2 separate regions of the Homo sapiens genome follow, and region 2 is linked to region 1. Evidence: promoter capture Hi-C in 16 types of primary human blood cells and fetal thymus (Javierre and others, 2016). All regions are on one chromosome and are shown on one strand. The core of a region is centred on a gene start or on the middle of the fragment in contact, and the rest is flanking DNA. Distances in the headings are between cores, read along the strand shown. Region 1 holds the start of TNFSF8 (TNF superfamily member 8). Region 2 overlaps TEX48 (testis expressed 48).

Region 1 (4,772 bases), core at 707-3,206:
GAACAAGAGGGCCAAGGGAGCAGCTGGTTCTCAGCAACTCTGGGCAGACCACAGAGCCCTTGCTACCCACTCACTGTCCGTGCCCACCAGAGGACACAGCCTTCTCCCCAAATCAGCCAGGTACATGCCCCAGAAAACACTGGCTTGCCTCGTTCCCACCTTAATTACCGGACCAAACGAACGTGAACACACTGTTTTCAAAACCAAACTCAATTGGGATCACGGGGGCCTCGGTTTCCTTGATTGTAAAATGGGTATATCGCCCCCCACTCTATTTAGCCCAAGAAAACAATTTATCTCTTGATGTCTCTTTCGTCTCCAGGATCTATGCTTTTACAGACTCACTGGGAGGAAATATCCAGACCAAATCCTAAAGCCTGATCTAATTTGGGAGATGCTCAGAAGTTTTGGTTCTATGCAAGAACAGCAGTGGTAATAATCCAAGCTTGGCTTTAGACACAGGACGTTTCCTTAGGGGCATCTGGGATCTCTGCTGGCTCAAAGTGATGCGCTGCAGACAAAAAGTGAGCAGAAAGGAAAGGAGGTGCTATGCAGAATGAGCTTCTTCCACGGTGATACCAAATGGAGCTTTCAAAGGCCCACATCTGGAGGCAGCAGCTATGCAGTGATTAACATTTTAAACGGTATTTTGAAATGGAGATCATTAGTAACCACAGATGTGATCTGACTCTGTCCCCCAGGTAATCTGTCTATTGTATCTAAATTCCAGACTTAGCCCAGTAGACAGCTTGGGATGTTTAACAGGAATTGTCCAACACCATCCCCAAATCTATTTTTATTCATGGAGTACTCTGACATCATCTCGCTTGGTCTTCCTGATGACTGTAATGCAGATTGGGAACAGAGAAAGCCATAAAGACTTGTATGATGGCCCAAGGCTAAGAAGGGAAAGGGCTGAGACCACACTTCAGGTTTTAGCTTTCAGGTGCAGTGAAGATTGAATGACTTAGCACGAGCTTTCAGCCAGGCAGGCTGCAAAGTGCACCCAAGTTCTTTCAGTGATCGACACTTGCGACTTAGGTTGAGATAGTTTTCATCCTCCCTGAGCCTCAGTTTTCCCATCTGTAAAAAATAAACATTGCCTGCCTCGGAGGGTGGAGGTGGAAGTGGAATGAAGCCACATGTAACTCCTAGCGCTGTGCCTGAGACAGTAGAGGTTCAATTATAGTAGTCACATACACACACAACACATACATACACAAGACACAACACACCACACACAACACATACATACACACCACACACAACACTTACATACGCACCACACTCGGCATGCATTGCAGATCACAAATGCACACCACACACACACTGCATACATATACCATAGAGAACACACAACACCTACACATACCCCCATACCACAAATACACACACACTACATAGTACACCACGCAGAACACACACAGCCCCCATATTCCACACCACACCATCTCACTGCCAATTCCTTCCCCTCTTCATGAGTTTTACGGCAGGTCCAGGTTCATCTGCCAGTTTAACAGATCCCAAAACTTCTGCAGGAGTGTTTGTTCAAAAGATTGATATTTCCAGATTCCTGCTTTCTGACAGTATCTTTGAACCCCAAATTTCATACTGCCATGAGCCAGTCCCCCTTTGGAGAAATATCTCCATTTGTGTGCCCTTTTTCCCCCAGGGAACCTGCAGCATGTCCCTTTTTCAGCAGTAGCCTATCAAACCGAACCCTTTGGAGTTATTACACTGCAGTCCGAGGGATCCGGCCTCCCTGAGACCCAGCAAGGACTCATTATCTGGGGAGGTCTTCTGAGCCACAGGCCTCGCTGAAAGAAGGTGCAGCTTCTTGAACAGGAAGGCGTTTTGTGGCAGAGTCTAAACGAAACAGAAGTTGCTTTGTGTGTGCGCACGCATGCACACACACACACACACACACACACATACACACACACAGTCGGGGAACCGTCATTTTCCTACGCGCCCTCTGACATCAGCCACCTTCTCTGTAGCTAGTTTCTCTGCACACAACTTAATCCCTGGCAATGAAAAATGAACCTCTCCCCCACCCTTGCTGCCGCCTCTCGCCTCACGCCCCCAGAGAAGAGTTTCTCCACCAGGCAGCAGGTGAAGGTTTTTTTCCAAGTCACATGATTCAGGATTCAGGGGGAGAATCCTTCTTGGAACAGAGATGGGCCCAGAACTGAATCAGATGAAGAGAGATAAGGTGTGATGTGGGGAAGACTATATAAAGAATGGACCCAGGGCTGCAGCAAGCACTCAACGGAATGGCCCCTCCTGGAGACACAGCCATGCATGTGCCGGCGGGCTCCGTGGCCAGCCACCTGGGGACCACGAGCCGCAGCTATTTCTATTTGACCACAGCCACTCTGGCTCTGTGCCTTGTCTTCACGGTGGCCACTATTATGGTGTTGGTCGTTCAGAGGACGGTAAGTGGACTCCTCTTCCTCCCTTTCCTTTTCTTGTTGTTTTCCCGAGAGAAAGAGCCCTGGGAACAAATGATATTCGTTTGTTGGTTAAGAGCACAAAATAAAATTAAATAAATAAACTCTCTCTCTCTATATATATATATATACTATAGTATATACTGTATAACGTAATACACTTATGTTACATAATATATATTATATTATACAGTATATATTATATATATATATATATATGAGAAAGGGAGAAAAGAAAGAGGAACTTAACTCTCTAAAATAATTTGGCTTGTTGAGAAAAATATTGTTAGACCATCATCTTAAAACTTTGCAGATCTGTCTGAGCAAAACAGTGGAGGGGAGCTATTGGCCTTTTAAAGTTAAGATTTAAATCTTAATGAGCCAGAGACCCATATCAAGGAAGGAAGCAATAGAGAAACCTGATAACACATTTGCACAAGTTGTTATCATGTCTTCAAGGACTTCAGACTGGATTCTGAGGTTCTATATCCTAAGTCTGAGTGTCCTGGAGGTTTCTGAGGCCTCACCCATTGCCAAGAGTTTTGTTTTTGCTTTTGTTTTATACAAGGAGCTAAGTTTCAGAGGCCAAGGTCTAGAAGGAAAGGAGGCGAAAGAGAAGACCATGGCTTCTTAGAGCTTTGGACATTTTGGTGTTAAAGCCAGCAAGACAAATCGAAAGCTTCCTCTTAAGCCACAACTTTGAAGAAGTTAGGGCGTCACAAAAAAAAAAAAAAAAGAAACAGCACATAGAAGCAGAAAGTTGAAAGGTTTTTAGCACCTGTTCTCTCTGATGTTCCTCACAATACTAAGCAATCGTTGGGTACACACTGTACAGGGTCAGACTGTCTTCGGAGATTTACTTTGAAGTAAATGGTAAGATTTGTTTCTGAAAACAGAAGAGGAGGAGAAAGAGGAAGCTTCTTCATATTTTAGAAAATTGGTGTTTACAGAGAATCTACCAGTATATATTATATAGAAAATGCTGTAGTAATAGCATATATTGCTCATGAATTTTTTGATGAAGTTGTTAATGGGTAATTTAAGAGCTGCACCCACCCACATGACCTGCCAAAGTGAGAATATTTCTGTTTCTTACTTCATAGTGCCTACTTTTCGTGGTATTATAATCCTGCTGAATTTATTCTGGTTTTTCTTCAGTTTTCTTAGGCCAAGTACTCTATAGCTTATCAATTGCTGGAAAGAACTAGGCTTTAAAAGGCTTTGATATCTATTTCTCAAGTGTCATCAAGCTTTGAAATTAAATGGAAGCTTTGAAGCTCATATCTCTACAAAAGTGAAAAGAAGGAGTTGCAAATATTTGATTTAGATAGTGGAATTCTTAAAACTCATAATTTAATGGCTTATCTACATCTATTAAGTATAATAATCTTGAAAACACTTTAGGACATCTTTTCTTCTGCAGGGGCTCTGCAATTTCTGTAATTCTAATTTGGAGTGAACCAAGGGTATGTCATTTTATAGCAATGGCCAAAGAAAAGAAATTGAAGTGTCCTTTAAGAAGTTCTTTAGTTAAAGGATCCAACTAGAACTGCTGAGAGAGAGAGAGAGATGGTGGAAAAATGGGTGGCGATGGTGATATATAAAGCTAGAGAGAACTTCAGAGCTCATTCATATCCAACTTTTAGTTGAATTGATTTCTTCTATAAAAGAACCAGAGCAGATCTTTCTGCCTCATTTTTGTAAATGTGGAAAATGAGGAGCAGAGAGGGAACAGGGCTTGAACTACGTCACCCTGAGAAAGTGGTAGAGCCAATACTGCTTGATTGCTTGATGCAAGCAGCATCCCCTTTGCCAATACAGACAGCCACAGAAGCACTAAGAAACATTGCACCCACTCTTCTCTTGGGAGCTTTATCTTCTTGTGCATCCACTTCCTTGACTTACCCCTCATGTTTGGATATGAAAAGATTCACTGTGCAATCTGATTGTACAGTGCGGTGTGCTGTGATTTCTTAGACCAGGAAATATCAGTTGCTTCCTTAAAATTAAGGCTTGCCATGTTAATAGTAGCCGTGGTATATAAAGTGTCAAATGCATTGCACATATCATTTTCAATAAATTCCTCAGACCTTAACTGTTGTAAGACCTAACAAGAAAAAAAAAAGCATCATTTTCCCATTAACTTGAGTTATCAGGAAGGGTTTCCTATAGGAAGATGGAATGTAGACTGACTTGAAAACAGGAAGAACTCAGACAAGTGAAGAGACTCTAAAAGAAACTCTAGGAAAGAAATCAATGGGAGAAAGCCAAGGAGCTTAGACTCACATCACCATTATTAAAAATGGAATGAGTTAATGG
Region 2 (4,772 bases), core at 913-3,412, 270 kb after region 1:
TTTTCTATAAAAGATCAAAGAGGAACAGCTCTGCTTGAATCAAGCTTGAGAAGGTAGGAACCCCACTAGCTCGCCCACTCCTTCCTTCTGCCCTTCCCACCCCCCCATAGGGGTGAGGCTCACAGAGGGAAAGGGACTTCCCACGAGTGCACTAGGGAATGACGTAAGTGTCAGAGCCAGGATGGGCCCAAGTCTCCTACCTTCCATATCACTGTGCTTTGCAAGACAGCCTACTGTCACTGAAGCCACCAACGTAACACAATGCAAAATACACTGCAAGAAACTCCTCCTATCACAAAAGACTTCCAAGTCCTAGACTAGGGTCTGCCTTGGGTCCCTTGAGATTCAAGAAGCTGAGGAATGATCAGCAATGGATACAAACAACCAAAACAGTTCATCAAAGCCCAATTCAAAGGCCTTCACCCAGCATAATTTTTTCCTTTCTTCTTTCAGATCTGAATGCATATGCTTCCCAAAGAAATTTTTACAAGAGAAACTTAAACCGCTACTGCCAGGAGCACTGGCCATTCCAGCCATGCCTCACTGGGAGGCCCTGAGCATTCTAGCCGGCGGCTGCACAGCTGCTGGGGCATCTCCATGAGGAAGAGGGCGGTGGACAGGAGTCATGAAGACTAATTCGGAAACTCCCCTGAAGGAGGAGAAGACATCTGAGCCATCCTTGTGCCACCAAGCAAGAGTCACTCCAGCTCCTAAAAAGCCACCATGGGAAGAGCTGCCTCCAATTAAAGTTCTTGATTGCACCAGAGGATGTGTCCTTCTCTTTTCCTTTCCCCCTTACCAACTAATGTCTTATTATTTTTAAATATATTGTCACATCTAACTAAGCTTAAAAAATTTAGCCTATTGGCTGGGCGCAGTGGCTCACGCCTGTAATCCCAACACTTTGGGAGACCGAGGCAGGTGGATCACATGAGGTCATAAGTTCAAGACCAGCCTGGCCAATGCGGTGAAACCCCATCTGTGCTAAAAATAAAAAAATCTGCCAGGTGTGGTGGCGTGCTCCTGTAATCTCAGCTACTAGGGAGGCTGAGGCAGGAGAATCACTTGAACCCAGGAGGCAGAGGTTGCAATGAGCTGAGATCTCGCCGCTGCACTCCAGCCTGGGTAACAGAGTGAGACTCCGTGAAAGAAAGAAAGGAAGGGAAGGGGGAAGGGGGAAGGGAAGAAAGAAAAAAGAGAGAGAGAGGAAGGAGAAAACAGCTTTTTGGATACCTTCTGAAATAATTCCAAATTTACAGAAATGTCACAAGAATAATACAGAGAACTCCCATTTACCTTTTACCCAGAGTCACCAATTGTTTAATCTACATTTTCCCCATTTGCACCATTTCAGCTCACTGCAACCTCCGCCTCCTGAGTTCAAGTGATTGAACTCAGTTCAATCCTGCCTCAGCCTCCCGAGTAGCTGGGATTACAAGTGCCTGCCACCAGGCCTGGCTAATTTTTGTATTTTTAGTAGAGATGGGGTTTCACCATGTTGGCCAGGCTGGTCTCGAACTCCTGACCTCAGGTGATCCGCCCTCCTCAACCTCCCAAAGTGCGGGATTACAGGCGTGAGCCACTGTGCCAGGCCAAGGTATATCTTTATTAACAGCATGAGAACGGATTAATACGGTGTATCTTTAGGGTTAATTTTTCAGCATGGACTTTTGAGCCAAATGGAAAAGATATATACAGTTTTGTTAGATGCTGCCAAGTTCTGTTCTGTAAGAGTATATGATATCTGAGATACCTGTTTCCTCATGCCCTCAGCAACTGTTTAGGCTCTCCCAATCCTACAGGTGAGAAACGGTATCTCATTTTGGTTTTAACCTGCATTTCCCTTACCATGAGTGAAGACTAACATCTATTCATATGTTTAAGGGTCATTTTTATATGTTTTTATTAATGATCTGTTTATGTCTTCCACTCTTTTTTCTTTTTCCTGTTTCCTGTTAATTTTTGAGTGCTCTTTATATACTAGAAATACTAGCTCCTCAAAGTCAAGTTTATTAATGTTTCATTGAATCTGGACTTTGGGTTGTCGTTAGCCTTTCCCTACATCCAGTTTATAGAGGAATTCACCCACACTTCTTCGTTTGCTTGTATAGCATTATACATCAGAAATATAACCTATTCCATTTGGCATTTATTATTATGTATTTAGGAAGTATGGATCTAACTTTACACTTTCTCCAAATGATTATATAGTCATTTCAGCATATTTATTAAGGAGAATATCTTTGGTCCAATCATCCATCTGAGATGACACCTTTATTATCATACACTAAATTTTCATATATATTTGTGTCTCTTTCTGAACTTTCTATTCTACTCCACTGGGGAGTCTGCCTGTTTTTTTGTTTGTTTGTTTGTTTGTTTGTTTGTTTGTTTGTTTTTTGAGACGGAGTCTCACTGTCGCCCAATGCCTGTTTTATTCTTGCTTGTTTTTTCATGTAAATGTTAGGATCAATTTGTCTAGCTTCAGAAAAAATCTTGATGTTATTTTCATCATGATTGTGCTAAATTTACAAATTAGGGAAAATTATAAATCAGGAAGAACTGACACATCTATAACATTGATTCTTCCTAACCACCAACCAATGTCTTTTCATTTGTTCAAACCTACTTTGTTGGCTTTCAGGACTATTTTCAAGAGTTCTTTATATTAATTTTGCAAATTTCTTATTAACTTTACTCCTAGGTATTTTATCTTTTGTTGCTATTGTAAATGAAGTTTTCTCTCTCACTATTGTTGTAGTTAGTTATTGCTTGCGTATAATAACACTATTGAGTTCAGTATGCTAATTGTATGCCTTGCTTCCCTTCTGAATTCTTTCATTGTTTGAGTAGTTTTGTTTTTGCTTTCCGATGGTTTACCAGTAATACTATTATGTAATCTGCAAGTAGAAATACTTTAACTTCTTCTTCTTCTAATTTTTATGTCTCCAATTTACCTTTTCTGATTGCAATGGTTAATGCCACCGCTACAATGTTAAAGTCAGTAGATATCTGTGCTTCGTTCCTGATTTTAAATAGCTCCAGTATTTGCAAATTAAGGAAGAAGTTGGGTTTAGGACAAAGGCATAGAGGTAGAGATAAAGAGAGAGAGAGAGAGTGCCATTTTATCATATTAATATAATATCCATCAATTCCCTCTTTTTTCTTTTTTCAGCATCTATAAAAAAAATCACAATTTCTTTACTCATATCGAATCAAACTTCCATTCCACAGATAAATTTCACCTGATCATGATTTATTATCTTCATACTGTGAGGTTGGATTCTGTTCACTAATATTTTATTAAGAATTTTTGTATCAGTATTGGTAGGTAACGTTGCCTTGTAATTTTCTTTTTGATTATCCCTATCACATGCGGTTATCAATATACACTTGCTTCACAAAAAGAATTTGGAAGTTTTATTTTATATGCTCTAGAACAATTTATGTAGTACTGTAACTGGTCTTTAAAAGCTTGGTGAAACTCTCCTTGTGCAACCTTCTGGACCTGTTGCCTGTTTGGGGGAGGGTAGTTTCTTAATAAATTTCTTCTACAGAAATTGATAGTTTCTATCTTTAATGCAGTCAATTTAATAAACTATTTTCCCAGAAAACTATCTACTTCATAGTTTTTCAAACTTTTTTACATAAAAGTATATTATGGACTCTAAAGATTTTTAAAATTTCTTTTGTTTCAACAATTTTTCCCCCTTATTCTTTCTAATTTTATATATTTTTGCTTTCTCCTTTTTTTCCTGATTAAGCTACACAGTATTTCTATTTTGTTAATTTTTTTCAAAAAAAGATTTTGATTAATTAGATCTGCTTTTTAATACTCTAGTAAATTCTGCTTTTAATCTTATACTTTCTTTTCCTTACTTTGTTGCTCTTTTTCCAGCTTTAAGAATTGGGAAATTATTTCATTCTTTTATTTTCTTGATACAAGTGTTTAAACACAGTGGTAGACAGAATAATGACCCCACTGCAAAAGATTAAAGTTGAAGATACAATTAAGGTTGCTAATCAGTGACCTTGAGATAATTCACAATTACCTGGGTGGGCCCCATCTAATCACATTGGGAGAATCTGCAGCCCACTCTGGGGCATGTTTCTGCCACAACAGCACAGAGGCCAGGACAGGAGAGGAGGTGGCAGCAGTCGGGAATTCACCAACATCCCCTTCCTGGGGAGAAGGAACTAAATTGTCATATGACTTGCTTGGCCAATGAAAACATAACAGATAGGACACTAACAGGGGCTTAGAAATGTGTTTTCACAGTGGGGCTTGCTGTGTCTTCCTCTAGCAGCCCCAGAAGAAGAACACACCTGGCTAGCCTACTAACCCAAAAGGGGTAAGAGACATGTGAGGCAGAACCACTCCAGCCGACCTGATAGGCACAGTGGACATTACAGCATGGTGGACAAAGGAATGGACTGCTGGAGAGGGGCTCAGCATATGTCCTCCCTCCTCCCTGCCTTTGTGGTTCAGTCCAAACCCCACTGTCCCCAACATTCCCCGGTTCCCCCACTCTGTGACATCACAGACAGCCTCCTGTCCACTCTGCCAGCTGCAGGTGAATGAGACTCATAGGTTAGACCTAAGGGTAAGAGGGCGTAATTTTTCTGTACTAAAACAGAAAATGTCCCCGCCACTCCTGGACACCTATTCACTTTGCTACAAGAAGCACCCCTTATTTGCCTTGACCCCACTGTTTCTCTGTCTCTGGGTCTCAGTCTCCCCCACTGTGCTGAAAGACTCCTGAGGGCTCCCC

The links. The method cuts DNA at HindIII sites, captures the fragments that hold promoters and counts their contacts. A CHiCAGO score of 5 or more calls a contact.
Region 2: a contact is called between a fragment that was not itself captured here and the fragment with the promoter of TNFSF8 in region 1, in 8 of 17 cell types (M1 macrophages, M2 macrophages, M0 macrophages and 5 more). The highest score is 8.1, in M1 macrophages.

Annotation. Positions count from the first base shown.
Region 1 is chr9:114,927,775-114,932,546 of GRCh38, reverse strand. It overlaps TNFSF8 (TNF superfamily member 8), which reads left to right and starts at 1,956. Exons shown (of 4, transcript NM_001244.4): 1 at 1,956-2,438. The coding sequence starts at 2,244. RefSeq lists an enhancer at 2,303-2,862. The HindIII fragment of the contact is 2,687 bases long and covers 448-3,134 here.
Region 2 is chr9:114,662,428-114,667,199 of GRCh38, reverse strand. TEX48 (testis expressed 48) reads left to right here. Exons shown (of 5, transcript NM_001199233.2): 5 at 454-766. The coding sequence ends at 557. Among named protein-coding and RNA genes, the nearest start is that of TEX53, 7.0 kb to the right of the region's middle. The HindIII fragment of the contact is 2,628 bases long and covers 849-3,476 here.